2 separate regions of the Homo sapiens genome follow, and region 2 is linked to region 1. Evidence: promoter capture Hi-C in 16 types of primary human blood cells and fetal thymus (Javierre and others, 2016). All regions are on one chromosome and are shown on one strand. Each heading gives the region's core, a stretch centred on a gene start or on the middle of the fragment in contact. The rest is flanking DNA. Distances are from core to core; before and after follow the strand shown.

The links. The method cuts DNA at HindIII sites, captures the fragments that hold promoters and counts their contacts. A CHiCAGO score of 5 or more calls a contact.
Region 2: a fragment that was not itself captured here is called in contact with the fragment with the promoter of RPL10L in region 1 in 1 of 17 cell types (M1 macrophages); the score reaches 5.3 in M1 macrophages.

Annotation. Positions count from the first base shown.
Region 1 is chr14:46,650,052-46,653,398 of GRCh38, forward strand. RPL10L (ribosomal protein L10 like) reads right to left here and starts at 1,730. Exons shown (of 1, transcript NM_080746.3): 1 at 959-1,730. The coding sequence starts at 1,685. The coding sequence ends at 1,041. All of the region lies in intron 3 of LOC105370481 (a long non-coding RNA gene), which reads right to left. The HindIII fragment of the contact is 1,853 bases long and covers 1,261-3,113 here.
Region 2 is chr14:47,238,862-47,242,208 of GRCh38, forward strand. All of the region lies in intron 2 of MDGA2 (MAM domain containing glycosylphosphatidylinositol anchor 2), which reads right to left. Among named protein-coding and RNA genes, the nearest start is that of MDGA2, 440 kb to the right of the region's middle. The HindIII fragment of the contact is 1,689 bases long and covers 651-2,339 here.

The sequences.
Region 1 (3,347 bases), core at 480-2,979:
GTTAAGACTGACATAGCATTTCTTTAAATAAATGAAAATTAAATAGTAGTGTTTCTTACTATTTCTTTTGTTGTTTTCATTAAATGTGTTGACTTTGAAAAAGAACCGTTAGTCTAAAAACACTGAAGGCACTGTTAGCAGGATTGAGATTCAAAAGGCTAAGTCAATTGTAAAGAACAAGAATTTTTTTTAATGCAGTACAAACTCAGGAATTTTAGCTTATGTAGTTTCAAAAATAAAACAAAAAGCACCTGTGTCATCAACGTAACTCTAATTCAGGGCAAGCACCTACAATTGCAAACTCTCTTTAGGGTCCTTTTATAGCACAGATAACCGATTTAGTGTCATTTTCTCTCTTCTTTTGGTTCTACTGGAGCCCAGATACAAGTAATATGAACTCTGTTGTCACCTATGACCTTTCTATGATGAAAAAAAGATTAGACTGTTATCTCTTGACTGTGAGACAATGTAAAGTTCGTCTGGAAAAGCCTTTCAGAGTGATACTCAATTGTCCTAAGGCTGATAATCAGACGTGTAAGGTAATTCTAAAAACAATGTACAGAAATTTATAGAAAAACATAAGGCAACCAAGTTTAGAAATAAATTACTTCCAAAGAGGCTGTGGGTGAAATATCACTAATGCCTACTATTATTTTCATCGCTACTGTTTAGTTTATATTCTATAAACAAATTTTTTCACTCAAATCTATTTTTTATTCAAGGAATGATAGCTGCATAACTTATGACTTTACTACAAACAAAACTTTCAACATATTGCTCTATACTCTCCTAAATTTAAAGTGTTTGCTTAAAACAGCTTTCTCTATAAATTGTATAGTTTTACTGAAGCAAGGAAGGTAACATTTGCCATTAAAACTGAATAAATAGAAAAAAATTCTCTAGTAGTCTATATTCTAAAACATTGGATATTTAAAAAATATTAAAACTTAATAAGGAGTTATTTTTTGCCAGTAAACAGAATTTATTAGTAAGCATAAGTCAGACCAGCATGGCCCAAGGAGACAGTACTGCCAAAACCTTCATGAGTGCAGAACCCGCCACTTGTCCAAGGGGCCATGACTGGGAACGTACTTGACTCCACAACCATCAGGGATGAGGCACTTCTTGGCCACCATGTCTTCAAATTCGTCAGCATTAAACTTCGTGAAGCCCCACTTCTTGGAGATATGAATCTTCTGGCGTCCAGGGAACTTGAACTTGGCCCTGCGCAAGGCTTCAATCACATGCTCCTCGTTCTGAAGCTTGGTGCGGATGGACATGATGACTTGACCAATGTGGACCCGGGCTACAGTACCCTGGGGTTTTCCAAAGGCACCTCGCATACCTGTCTGGAGCCTGTCAGCCCCAGCACAGGACAACATCTTGTTGATGCGGATGACATGGAAGGGATGGAGCCGCACTCGCATGTGAAAGCCATCTCTGCCACAACTTTTCACCATGTATTTGTTGGCACAAATACGGGCGGCCTCCAGGGCTTCAGAAGACAGCTGCTCATATTCATCAGACACCATGTGGCCACCGAGTGGGAACTCATCCACTTTTGCCTTCTTTCTACCCAGGTCAAAGATGCGGATCTTGGCATCAGGAACCCCTCGGCAGAAACGAGATTTTGGGTACGGCTTGTTCTTACAATACCGGTAACAGCGAGCTGGACGGCGCCCCATGGCGACACAGTAACGTCGGCGGTGCCTCGAAGTCAAAATGCGCTCTCTTAACTACGCCTGCGCGCATTTATATACGTTGCCCCTCGTCCCTCGCGGGAACCATAGAGTCCTGAGGCCGGAACCATAGAGTCCTGAGGAGGATGTGACGACTCTCTTTCAGGACGTCCCAACCAGAGACGCAGGGACGTCTGGCGCCTCAGCGCCTGCGCCAAGTGGCGCGCTTAAGGTGAGCAGAGTCAGCTGTGGGTAGACTCCCCCTGGCGGCCAGGGAAGGAATTGGGCCCCGCCCCAACTGCACAGCTGCTGCTTCCTTTCTGCTAGCCATCTTGGGCTAGGAACTCTTGCTTTCAGCTTTGCTTTAAGTATAAAAGAGGTTATTTCCAGGCAGGAGAATCTCTTGAGCTCAGGAGTTCGAGGCCAGCCTGGGCAATATAGTGAAATGCTGTCTCTACAAAAAAAAAAATATATATATATCAAATAGCTGGGCATGGTGGCACATGCTTGTAGTCCCAGCTACTCAGGAGGCTGAGGTGGGAGGATCGCCTGGGCCCTGCAGGCAGAAACTGCAGTGAGCTGAGATAGCACCACTGCACTCCAGCTTGAGTGACAGAGGGAGACCCTGTCTAAAGAAAAAGAAAAAAAGAAATCCTAGAATTTGAGAGGAAAAATCCTTCCAGTTATTCAACATGCTGTTTCCAGTTTGGTCAGTTCATTTTCCAGAGCTTGTATCTCACTGTCAGCATTTGTAGATCAATTGCTGTTTCTTGGGTTATGTGGCCACCTTCCCTGGATAAAGTGGTTTCTTGGCATGAGTGCTTTGATGAGACTCAGGAAGAGATGAGAGGAAGAGAAGAGAGAGGGATAAAGAGAAGATATCTGTTGTATCTGTAGCTTGGCAATTGTTTTATAAACATGAAACTTTGTTTTTTCTTTATTTGGCCTAAAGAAATGATTTTATTATCAAAATGATATATACAAAATTGAAACACCAACTAGATTTTTTTTAACTTAAGGCTATTTGCATTTTCAAATGTTAAAGCTGCTGAAACTATATAAAAGAGTAACAGTTTGTGTTTTAGTAATCTTTTGCCCCTGAGAATAAATTTAAACTTTTTTTCTTCTCAGAGTTTGTAAAAATATTATGACAGGGATCAGAGTGTAGGAAAGGAGGAAGAAGAGAGAGGAAAAGAAATTAATAGTTTACAAACCCTACTTGCATTTTTCTAGTTTTCTTTTTTGTTTTAATGTTGTTTCACAAATCCATTACATCATGGAACAAAATCCCCCCAATGTGAATATATTCTGTCAATACTCTTTGTTTTAAGGGAGAAAAATAACTCCTGCCCTTAAAGTGAGTGGATTTTTACAAAATACTAAAGATAAAACAATTAAATCTCCCAATGTAGAAAACTTTCTGACCTTTAAGAAAGCTTTCTCACTTCCCTTTTCTTCCTTCATTTCTTCTTTCCCCTTTTTCTCAACTAGTTCCTGTTTAACATATTGAGATAAAGTAGCTAATACCATGTTGCTCTCACCAAGCTTACAAGCCTAGGAGAGGATATAGATACTTCTCATATATCATCATATTACCAAGTGTAAAATGTGCCAAAAAGGAAAAGCAAAGTAAGCCCTGAGACTGTGGGATGAGGCTGGGGATGAGAC
Region 2 (3,347 bases), core at 245-2,744, 590 kb after region 1:
ATAATACAAAATGATTTATAATAATATTTTTTAAATTAATAGAAAGTAAGGATGAGCTAAGAGGTAGAAAGTTTAAAATGGGAAGAAATATCTCAATTTTTTGTTGTAAGTAAATTGTGATCGGCTCTGCAAGAATCTCTTTATTCTTTACCAAAAACTCCATTACTGGTGTTTATGTAGCTGGGTTTAGTTGTTCTCAGATAACTATCAAACGTAAATTATCTTCCACAAATTTGAGTGCTACTATCGCCATCATAAAGTTGTATTGAGGGCCTAATATGAACCTCATGCTAGCTTGGGGGAAACAAAACATATTATGTGACCCTGACGACCGTAACCTTTACGAAAGTCAAAATTTATTAAAAAAAAAAAAGGGCTCTGATAAGTGCTAAATTAAATTACGGACAAATTCTGTCACATTGCTTTAGTTTCCTGGACTAGTATCACTGAGTTGAAACATATCATTATTTTAATCATAAATATTTCACTATAGGCTTCTACTTTAACATGTCTAATATAAATTACTGTACATTGTGTAAAATAATTTATAAACTTTCTAAGGGATGAGAAAATCAGCCTTCTCAAAAAGATGTGTTTGCATTGCAAAAGGCAAGTAATATGCTTTGATCAATTTGATGTGAAACATAAAAAGCTTCTTTCATAGAAAACAGATACCAGGCATACAATTTTAATTGAAGAGAATTTTTGTTACTTCTTAATATTTCAAGGGAACACATACCAAAAGGAGCTGTAAGTCAGTTATTTTATTATTACCTTTGGCTATTTTACTATTACATTTCAATAAGATAATGAATTTTCCTTTGGGGAAAAAAAAGTTTTCAATGCTTAACAAATGAGATCATTCTAAATTAAATTATCTGCCTGAAAAGACACTATTTTAATAAATATTTGATTGAATAAAAGTTATTTTCCTCCACATACACAAATGTTATTGCATCCTTGCTTTTTGAAACAACGGGCTTTATATCAAAATTTTATATCTTTTTTTAGGCATACATTTTTTTCCCAGAGTTTAGTAGCAATCTTTTTCTCTATATATTTCAGTCCTTGAAACATATTGTGCACATTCAGTGTTATAACCTTGTCACTCAAAGAGCTGATACAACACAAAGTGATTTCACCAAAAATAATGGAAGGATAGACATTATTTTTGGTTAGAAACAGTTTTTGCTGTTTTTTTTTGAGACAGTCTTGCTCTGTTGCCCAGGCTGGAGTGCAGTGGCACGATCTCGGCTCCCTGCAACTTCTGCCTCCCTGGTTCAAGCGATTCTCCTGCCTCAGCCTCCTCAGTAGCTGGGATTACAGGCGTGCACCACCAATCCCAGCTAATTTTTGTATTTTTAGTAGAGATGGGGGTTTCACCATGTTGGTCAGGCTGGTCTTGAACTCCTGACCTCCTGATCCACCCACCTTGGCCTCCCAAAGTGCTGGGATCACAGGTGTGAGCCACCACGCCCAGCTAGAAACATTTTTTAAGAAGAAGAATATTGTGCTTGTCATGTTCAGTTTCTTGAACCGGGTTATAGGAGTGTGTTAAGTTATGAACATTCAATAAAACAGCAATCATAATAATAAAGAGTAACTAGTTTATTAAAAAGTTCAAGAAGCACTGTATTTTGTCAGTGTCTGGAAAAATAACACCAAATGTGCCTTTCTTTGTGGATACTCCATTTAGGAAAAGGTACAAATTGGAAATGAAAAGGAACGTGGTATGGGAGTGGAGAGAAAAAGAAGTATTTGAAAAGAAGTCTCAGAAATCATGGATAGAAAATAATTAATGATTATTACTATGTAAGTAGTGCATGTCTTAGAATATTGCACACACAACTGAGGGGTTTTAGCAAAAAATACATTACCCAGAAAGGAAAATGTAAAGCAGAAGCAGTGTGCTAAATTGCTGTTGCCCTCTCCTGATCTCCCAATTAGTGAGCACTTAGCCAACTCTCTTGAAAGCAAATACCTCTAAGGAGGGTGTCACTTAATTATTCATATTTTATTACCAATTACTTTAATCAGATGGTTTCTTCATAACATTTGGCTGAATCAGCTAAATTTGGAAATGTTATGCATACCATCCAAGAGTATAAAGAGGCACATGTGTGATTTTAGAAAATGGGTTATTTGAAGGAAACTTGCTCCAGATATGTTTGTTGAAATCATTGAGGGTTTTCATGTTCTGCTTGAAAACTTAACCTTTAGGAGTGGATGACCAATCCAGGAGATGGGCTTTCAGAGTCACTTGATGTTGCAAAGTTGATCATTTAAAAGGTTACTTTAATACTTCCTTAAAACAAGTGTAACTAATTCAACTCTCAGGAAGCTTAAGATGGCCTGGGGGAAGGGAAATACCTTAAGTAATCCTAACGAAAGCTAAGTCTGTGCTTTATGGTTGGAGGCACATGCAGGCAAAATGGTGAAACCATTGCTCTCCTTCAGGCTCCATGCACTTTTAGATAAACATCCAAACATCCTCATATTGCCTCAGGCTATTTTCATAGGGCCAACTCCCTGGGACTTAGAAAAATCCTATCTTTTCCATTAAAATGTCAATTCCTTCACAGGATAGAAGAAATTTAAAAATTATTGTGTTTGTTTTTTGTGTGTGTTTCTTTCCATTGTAAAAATTTGTTAATTTTAGAAAGGTTTTAGTTGTTTGCTTTAGCAAAGGTGTTTTCTTTAATTAAAGGTCACTCCTTGAACCAAAAGTTTAAGTCGCCAGTGAATTATTTGTGGCCCAAATTATTTATATGAATAATTATGTGAAAAGAGTAGAAATGTTGTCCCAAACACTTTCATCTCCCAACTCTTTTCCTCTGACTGTCCTGCATTCCATAATGTTTCATTGTATCATAAAACCCTAGCACATATTTTATGATTTTTCCACTGAGGTAAAAAAAAATGTTTAACATTCAATTGGCAAAGTGATGTTTACCTACCAAGAATATTTTTGCATAGGGGAACAAAACAAAATAGCTAAATTGAAATCCCTTCTTTACTATGAAATCATTTTGTGATCCTGAAGAAGGTACTCTTTTTTCTAGAACTTCATTTCCACATCAGTAAAATAGAGACAATTATATCCAACATAGAAGGCCATTGTGAAGAAAAAATGAGATGGTGCATAGAAAATGACAATAGGTGTTGTTTTTATTTTCCTTAGTATCTTTTCTGCTTCCCTGGCACTTAATAAAACCTACTAAGTGTCTTATCCTAATAACCTATGAAGATTGCTACTATTTCATTTAGAATAATTGTTCATACAGATTATAACACCTTCCCCACACACACACGCTTGCAGTTCTGCTTTTCAATAATTACGTAGTTAT